Regions from separate parts of the Homo sapiens genome. Here all the other regions are linked to region 1. The links are contacts of gene promoters, found by promoter capture Hi-C in blood cells and fetal thymus (Javierre and others, 2016). All regions are on one chromosome and are shown on one strand. Each heading gives the region's core, a stretch centred on a gene start or on the middle of the fragment in contact. The rest is flanking DNA. Distances are from core to core; before and after follow the strand shown. Region 1 holds the start of OSTC (oligosaccharyltransferase complex non-catalytic subunit). Region 2 overlaps LEF1 (lymphoid enhancer binding factor 1). Region 3 overlaps LEF1 (lymphoid enhancer binding factor 1).

What was found. The method cuts DNA at HindIII sites, captures the fragments that hold promoters and counts their contacts. A CHiCAGO score of 5 or more calls a contact.
Region 2: a contact is called between a fragment that was not itself captured here and the fragment with the promoter of OSTC in region 1, in 1 of 17 cell types (fetal thymus). The highest score is 5.2, in fetal thymus.
Region 3: a fragment that was not itself captured here is called in contact with the fragment with the promoter of OSTC in region 1 in 1 of 17 cell types (fetal thymus); the score reaches 6.0 in fetal thymus.

The regions. Positions count from the first base shown.
Region 1 is chr4:108,649,207-108,652,103 of GRCh38, reverse strand. OSTC (oligosaccharyltransferase complex non-catalytic subunit) reads right to left here and starts at 1,505. Exons shown (of 4, transcript NM_021227.4): 1 at 1,310-1,505. The coding sequence starts at 1,448. RefSeq lists enhancers at 552-601, 1,216-1,565. The HindIII fragment of the contact is 4,127 bases long and covers 1-2,897 here.
Region 2 is chr4:108,111,935-108,115,103 of GRCh38, reverse strand. The region is part of intron 3 of LEF1 (lymphoid enhancer binding factor 1); the gene reads left to right. Among named protein-coding and RNA genes, the nearest start is that of LEF1-AS1, 54 kb to the left of the region's middle. The HindIII fragment of the contact is 2,133 bases long and covers 788-2,920 here.
Region 3 is chr4:108,073,420-108,076,136 of GRCh38, reverse strand. The region is part of intron 8 of LEF1 (lymphoid enhancer binding factor 1); the gene reads left to right. Among named protein-coding and RNA genes, the nearest start is that of HADH, 85 kb to the right of the region's middle. The HindIII fragment of the contact is 8,586 bases long and covers 1-2,717 here.

The DNA of each region.
Region 1 (2,897 bases), core at 256-2,755:
TATTATTTTTAAAAGCCACATGCATTTTAAATTTTGTTTATTCAGTACAGTAGCTATTAACTTGATGAGCAAATGTTAATGGTTAATGCTAATGCAATGCTAGATAGTATCTTGTTACCAAATAAGTATTTAAATGTAACTCAAATATTTAAATGTAATTTATTTAAATGAACGTAAGTTAATTCTCACTATTCTAGATTGGGGGAAGGAGGTAAATTCAAAGGTGCTTTCTAGAACTCAGCTCTCTCAGTTTGAATCCTCCCCCTTCAGTGCCAACTATTCTCACAAAACATCTATGAAAATAACAATTATATGGCCACTCCCTTAAAAGTAGAACTACTTTTGCTATCCCAAATCCGTAGCTTTAATTTTATAATTTCCAGGTTAAGTACACCACTTCCCAAAATCTAAATTAATTTTATAATTTCCAAGTTAAGTACACCACTTCCCCAAATCTAAATGTACACAGTAGCACAGTTCTAAGTAAATCTTGGAACTGTGGCCTGAAAGGGTAGTGGCTCTGAAAAGACTAGCCGGATTGCCAACTCACCAGTACATAAGGCAACGCCCCTTTGCAATTTTCTATTTGAAAAGGACAGAATAAGATGATAGACAATTCAGAAGCGTTTAATAGTAATGCTATTTATCTTATTTTTTTAATTCTCAACTTCTGCCCACTGAAATACAGTATCGTCTGCAAATCTCATCTCCAATCTCAAATATTTATCAAACCTGTGATTTCAGAAAATTCCATTGATATTTATTGTAGGTCATGCAAAAGGCAACACAGAACCCTAGGTTTGAGCCAACAAAACTAAAGATTGTCAAGTCTCTTCCAAGATTCCAGGACAAAGATAAGTTTAAAAGTCCCACAAGCTCTTGACCAACCATGGAAGCGGAGTTGGCCAAATTAGACCTTCCCAGGACCTTTATCAAACAACCAACCATGGAAACGGAGTTTGCCAAATTAGGCTTTCCCAGGACATTTATCAAACAACGTATGGCAAGCAACAAAAAGAGCAACAATTTGGCCTTGAAAAATATATTTGACTCGGATCCCTGGGATGGGAGGGCTAGAAGGAGAAGAAAGGCAATGGGAGTGAGAACACGAATTCTCTTAAGACAGGGCGTGAAGGCGAATAAACTTGGACGTTAACACTTCGGACCCCAGAACTCCCCTCCACCCTCAGAAAAGATCCAAAGCAGAGCTATGCTTCCCCCGGGGCTGAGAGTCAGCGGAACAGACGCGCCTCCCGGGGCGGGTCAGTTCTCCGCTCCTCAGCCTCTCGGGCCCGACAGCCCGAGTTACCTCCGGTGATGAGGAAGTAAGACACCACCACCAGAGCATACACAGTCATGGCCGACGGCATGTGCAACCAGGGCGGCTTCTTCAGCTTCAGGTTGGGACATTCGAGCACTAAGAACGGGACACGGTACAAAGTCTCCATGTTGGTGGCAGCAAGGGCCGTTCTCGGCCTCAAGCCCCACGCGCCTCCCGGAAACAGGCCCGCCCTCCCTAACAAGTGCGCGTGCGCGAGGAAAGGACCCGCAGATCCGTAAAGCTCGGAGGTGGTTACTATACTCATAGAAGAAAATAAGAAACTAAATAAAACAAATAAATGATATGAATAAAGTGTTGTAAATTATTTAATCTAATTAAACTTACATTGTGATAATGTACTCTACATTTTTCTAATGGATATATAGGTGATTTGTGTACCTTCAAGGACCTGCGGGACTTCTAACGTGGCCAAGCCGGAGAAGCGGAGGCCAAGGAATCTAGGTGAGCCCCGCCCACTCGCTGACGCAGGGGATTTGAAAGCTGATTGGACAGGGGGCGCTCCCGGTTCCCAGAGCGGGAGATGAATGGGAACTTTTGGATATAAATGCCTTTTATATTAGAGGTTTTTTCAAGGGTTAGGAAAAGCCGGAGGCTGCTGAGCTTTTACTTCCCGATGTAGTCGTGGTAATAATAAGAATTAATAATAGTTGCTAAAGTAATATGTTACCAATTTTTTTTAAACATCCAGCCTGGATCACAAATGTCAACAGGACATCTCTACAGGGATGCCTTAATGCTGATAGCTTGGCGTGACCATAATACTATTTTGAATAACTCATCCTCTCAACTTTGCTCTTCCCTTGGTCATCTGTATGTCGCTAAAAGGTAAAATCCCTCTGGCCAAAAATCTTAAAGTCGTCTGGATTTCTCTCCTTACTAACCTTCTGCATCCAAAATATTAGTAGGTCTCTTTGGCTGTACTACCAAAATATCTCCAATTCATCTGCCCCTCACCATTCCACCACTGACACCCTAGTGTGAACCACCGCCATCTCTGGTCTGGGCAACATTTACAATCCAAATAGATGAAAATATATGATGGAGAATTAGTCATTAGGGATGGACTAGAAGGTCTAAAAGATTTTTTGTTTTCTGTTTTGCTTTTCTTTTTTATATAATCTTTTAAGACTCTACAAATGTTAACTTCCTTTTGGAGCAAGAGTTAAGAGTCACTGATTACATAAGTCCAGAGCATATTGACACATTATAGAGCCAATGTTTTTATATTTTTTTATTTGCTTGTTACTAAGCCCGTGGTTATTTTTACAGGATGCCATGTATTGGTTCTGCACTTCTAATTAGCTAACAACTCAATTGTTAAGAAATTGCTTGAAGACGGTAATGAAAATACTATCAAAACATTGTAGTATCCAATTCTAAGTACAGTTGAGGCTTGCTGCCCTTACTGTTCATTAGTGAGAGTCTCTCCCAGAGTCATATTGCCTATGTCTTAACGGAGCCACACGAATCTTAGGTTATGTAAAGGCCAATGATAACACCAATAATGAATGCATTTACACCAAAACCAGCGTTTATATGTAGGAAGTTTCTCTGG
Region 2 (3,169 bases), core at 605-3,104, 540 kb after region 1:
TCTTTATTTGAAGCCTTACAACCTAAAATGGATTATAAATTGCTTCTTTAAATTTAGCCTCCTGGATTTAGGTTGTCCACAGCAGGCCAGTGGGAGCACAATTCGGATGCTCGTCTCCTCCTGTCCCATCCCATCCCATTCCGTTCCTTTTAGGCAGCAGCTCCCTGCCCTCCTCGAGCCCCATAAGTGCTGCTCGGGATAATTCCATCCTGGGCAAATGCAGGGCAGTGGTCTCTGGAGTTTCTGTTCACAGAGGAAGCCGGCTGTTCCATTTATAACAAGGAAGGGTAGTTCTCTCAGACATTGCACATACACTTCAACGTGATGTAACCTGATAGCCCCTGACGGAAGTCCTAAGGCTCTCTCTTTAAACCCTTTTCCAGAAGGCAAGGTGTTTTCCTTGCTCTTTGGCTGCTGCTCACAGTATTTTCGTGTTATCTCCTCAGACATTAAGTCCCATATCTTTAGCTCGCAGAGTTTGTCTGCTCATATGCACCACACTTAAACGTCCACATCTAGAAAACACTCTTGTTTTCACATCACTTGGGGCTGTTTCCCCAAACTGCTTACCTTTTCACCATGGCTTTGCTGTTTTCCTCATTTTGACCTTTTCTTGTTAACATAAGATGCTTGTGTGTTGTTTCTGCAATAACCACTTTCTGGAAGGGCCTAGTTGACATTTCTTATCCTGCTGTTTTGACTGTGATGATGATGATCATTATCATCATATATATGATTCTTTGCATACAAAGTGCTTTTACAAACCCTTTATCGTTTAGGCCAAGCTTGGTCCTCCTCCCTGGCTTCTTGTTACAGATTCCTTTACTTGACTCTGATAATACTTTTTAAATTAGTTTGCTTACCAAGTGGGTTAACAATAAAGAAGAGAGAAAATCTCTGAAGGACACTTTTCCTTTATGTTTGTTTGCCTAAATGCTAAATAACTGGCCTATTACAGTCACAGAGTATGACTGTAACTACTGACTTAAATATGCTGATTTTCTGCAATGAAAAGAATAGCTTTTGATAAATGTTAATAAATAGCTCAAAATTTTTGAGTAATCATAACTTCTTGAATTTTCTATAACATACTTGCCTTAAAAAAAACTCCAGATTGCTTTAAACTTATGTGTTTATTTTTTATTCTTTGTCTTCATATAGTGGTTTTTTAAATGAGTTTAGGGTCTAGAACTAAATCTTTTACAGCTGAAAGCAGAACAAAGCAACTTTCAATTGGATCCGTCTTTTCTTTTATTCAAAATGATTATTCTAAGCACTTGTGACAGTGGGTAGCTGAGTAGTAGAAATAGCCACATAGTGCTTCATCCTCCTTGCCTCTCTTACTTTTCTCTCGACATGCATACCTGCAATTTATCCATGGTCCCACCCTCCCAACACATTACTGCTGTTTTGCATTTGCCCATCCTCCCATTTGAAGGAGTGCCAGGGAGGTCCTGTTGAATTCTTCGAAGAGCAGATTTGTAGTTGTTGTATGTTTTGGTATTTTGACAGCACTAGATGCAGACTTGGGTTTAGGGTGCTGTGATCTGCGGCAAAAACAGGATGTTTTAGGTGAGCCTGACTGTACAGGCAGTGGGCTTGTGGCAGGGTGGGTACTCCCTAACTTTGGTCCCCGTTTCCCTCCCACCCCCACAACAATTTCTTTGTGTGTGGGTTTGTTTCAGGACTTGTCAAAAGACAGTCGTTCAGTAGGTGTTCCCTTCTCCCCTGTAACACAGCTGCGGAGATCTGCACTTCCCCCACCCAAACTCAGCTGGCTCTCCTCCCTGACACATGCCCCTGGCAGCAACTAGTGCTCTGGAGCTCTTCTACCTTTTTTCTGCCGTTCTCAAAATGCTATCTGGTTCCATGTAGCTTTCTTTCTGATTTCCAGATTGAAAAATCTGAATAGATTTACTGGCAAAATGTATTTCTTCCTCTTTAGTGAACTGTATGGCACTAAACAAAGAGAATGGTTTCCATCATTGTATTAATTAAAAAACACACCCTGTCTGTTTCACTATAAGAACATCTCACCTCGGATAGCATTCCACAGCTCAGAGATGTGGCAGCATCAGGCTTCCATTCCTGGGCTTCTGCCATTCTAATGTTGTTTTTCCTCCAACAGGGTGGTTTCTGACAGTGCTTTGATGACATTGTCTAATGGTGTACTTAATGGGTAGCTGGGGGATGTCTTAGAGACAGATAATATTTTACTTTGTAGAGTTAGACTCTGGTTTGACTCTGCCTTTTCTGAGAAGGCTGTTTCTCTACAAGGGTATAGGATTAAAATCAGGAGCATATACTAATTATGTGAAACTATTTGTACTAATCCCACTTGCAGGTAATGACATTTGTTTACTGTGCAGCTGATGCTGATTTATCTTTACATTTTATCTAGTTAACAAACATACTTATATATCATTACGAGCCAGAAATCATTCTAAGAACTTAACTAATAGCAGCTCACTTAATCCTTAACAACCCTATGAAATAGGTACTGTCATCATGATCCTTATTTTCCAATGAGGAAAAATCAAGGCACAGAAAGAATAAGTAACATGCCCAAGGTTGTACAATAAGTGTCAGAGTTGAGATTCAGCCCCTGGCAGTCTGGCTTCAGGCGTCATCCTCTTACTGCCTCATGGCTGTGTGCCCATGGGTGGGTGGGACTGGCCATCACACAGTCCTGAATGGCATTGCAAGGGACATTTTTCTCATTGCCTGGAGAAACCAGGATCAGAACACTCTACCCCAGGCATGGGGCATGCAGCGAAAAACTGACTCTCAAGCCTAGGAGCTATTTGTATTGGCTTTGGTCCTTGGACCTCTGCTTACAGAAGCAGAGACCTCACAGCCTTCATCTGACCACACGAAAACCATCATAAGCTCATAGGACAGGGTTCCAGAGATGGAAGCTTCTAATGCCCCAGCAGCCACACAGTGTGTATCAATGCCTGACCTCCCAACATCCTAGCACCATTGAACTCCCAACAGGTCATTACCACTGTTTTTTGCCTGTTTCCAACAGCCGAGCTCTTTGCATACTCAGATCACTAGCTGCTGAGCCTTGTAGGGGAATTAGGGCAGGGTCGATTTCACAGATGAGAAGATACAGTGTCAATAGTCCACCATAAGACTAGGACCTAAATCCTGCTGCCACTTTTTT
Region 3 (2,717 bases), core at 98-2,597, 580 kb after region 1:
GCTGAGATGTGAGAGTAAGTAGAGACGAATGGGGAGAGGTAGACTCCCCCACATGCAGATGGAGTAGCATGTGTGTGCCGCCTCTGAAACAGGAAAGCGTTTAGCTCTTTAGGGAGCTACAGCAAGGCCTTTGGGGGACCGTCCTGGCAAACAGAGGTGGCCACTCCTTCCAGGACAGAAGCAGAGCTGTTCTACCATGAGGCTTTACATGGAAGAATGTATATGATCCTGAGGAGTCTTGATTCTAGAAAGACTGTTCTCCAAATCTCCAAGTGTACACCTGCCAGGTTTCTGGGTTGCCCTTTTCTTTTCATTCATTCTTTCACCAATGCTATGATATTTTTCTGAGCCCCTGTTATGTACCAGGCAGCAGGCTACAACTAGGATAGACACTCTAAGATTGTTTATCCAACTGTCAGCCAAAAGACATACATAGTCAGTCCTTCCAAGTACTTTGTATGGGATTGAAGTGATTTCAGTTAGATGGCTGAAGAGTGGTAAGAAAAGTTTGAGTTTCTCTAATTTAAATTACATTTTCACCATAGTCACGTTATCATTATAATTTTAGAAATGTTTCATCTTAATTTGTTGATGCTCTTCATATCTGTGTGGTAGCCTCTTAATTTGTGACCCTGTGTTTGTTTTTGCAACCTCTCAAGAAATTCATGATTGGCAAATGAACATTCAGTTGAGGAGGATCTAACAACCCTTGTGAAACATAGAGGATCATGTGTTAGCTATTGTCGATGATAATTTTACCAGGTCTGTTCTGAACCTAATAAATTTGAGCATTTATAACAGAAAACATTTAGGAGATTTCCAGTCCATGTGAACAGGAGGGAAGCAGGCCCTCTTACATTATCGATTCCCATTGGATAGCCTCAAAATGCAGCTATTTCCAATCTGCAAGTCACCAGGGTTTCCAGGGGAGGATGTGGTGATAGATTATAGCTTTTTTGGTGTCCTGTGTACAATGCCCTATCTCCCTGTGGATTCTTAGACACTTAATAACAATAATTACAATGCTTTCCCAAGCCAGATCATGGCAGATGAGTGATTCCCATCATCTTGGAAGAACTCCGCCTTAAAAACTGATGATCATTTTCCCTGACTCTTTAAAAGAAGAAATCAGAGGAAAAGAAGGGCTGATGTTTTTATTTCAGCTTGTATGCAACTCTTAGTTTTTTCTTTTTTCTTTTTTGAGTTAAGGGCCCCCTGGCCCTCCAGTGGGAATTACTTTCCTGCTGAATACAGAGAGTGAGGATATGATATGAAGGTATGCTTCCTATTCTTAATGCACATTTCCAACAATTGCTACTTTCTCAGCTCCCTTAACAATCCCCAGATCCGAGCATGTGTCCTAAAGGATGGTTCTTATTTGGGGTCTCTGTCTGTCTCTGATTTAGACACCTGTTTCTATTTATAGGTCTCTGAGATCTTTGATTAAGATCAGGTTTTCTATCCTTTCATAACTCCCCTCTGGCAGGGCAGCCCTTGCTAGCTCTTTAAAGTCTCTGGCATCAAAATCATGACGTTTTACACTGGGATAATTTGAGTTCTTAAAAGTGGATCTTAAATCCATCCCAGAACATTTTATCTTTTGATTTTTATTCATCTTTACTATATCTCTAAAATAGTGTTCATATGAATTAATCAAAGTTTTATTTTTAATCCATATTATAAATAATAATATCACAAATTTTATTTTAAAATAAGCCTTTTCTCTTCAGACCTTCCTGGCTATTAAAGGAAATCCATTTATCACAAATTTGTCATGAGAATGTTTTATCTTGGAACTGTACAAGTTTATTCAAATTAAATGGATATTTTCCCCACAACTTGGTGAAATCTTGACAATGAGATTTGATTTTTAAAAAGTTTGACTCTTTATTTTGCAGTAAATAGAGATAGAGAAGCATTTTTAGTCAATTGTGTTTCAGAAATTCCTGTAAAGAAAGACCATCTTTCAGGTCTGTACTAGACTTTGTTTTTGTTTTCAATGCAAAACTTTAATTACATCATTTTATCTACTGTTCATTTTGGTAAGTGATCTTCTATTTGTGAGTCATTTTTGTACATTAGAAATATCAGAGAACTTCCTGGCTAACACGGTGAAACCCCATATCTACTAAAAATACAAAAAAGTAGCCGGGCGTGGTGGGACGCACCTGTCGTCCCAGCTACTAGGGAGGCTGAGGCAGGAGAATCACTTGAACCTGGGAGGCGGAGCTTGCAGTGAGCCGAGATCGCGCCACTGCACTCCAGCCTGGGCAACAGAGCGAGACTCTGTCTCAAAAAAAAAAGGGGGGGGGGTTATCAGAGGACTTAAAGCAATGGAACATGTAAATAAATAGTTTAGTTTATGCCTACTTTGCCTCCTTGCCTTTTATTCAGTTTCGTTAGCTTGGGTCTTTTTGTCAACCTGTTTCTTGTTTTAACTGAAAAATACCTCGTTGTTTGGGTAGAAGACCCAAACTTGATACCTATTTTGGGAGTTAATTTGTATTTATGATTCCAGGTTTTCTCAGCTACTGTAAGTTACGTAAAACTATACTGATACAGTAATAAAAGGTGTTGTATATAGGGGAATGATAGTTGTCAAATAGTAAATTTAAAATGGAAGACTTCCTGTCTTCTTTTATTTTTTTTGTCCCTAATTTTTTTCCTTATTGGTAAAACTTTGCCTCTTGCCAATCATCCTTATTTAGCACTAAAGC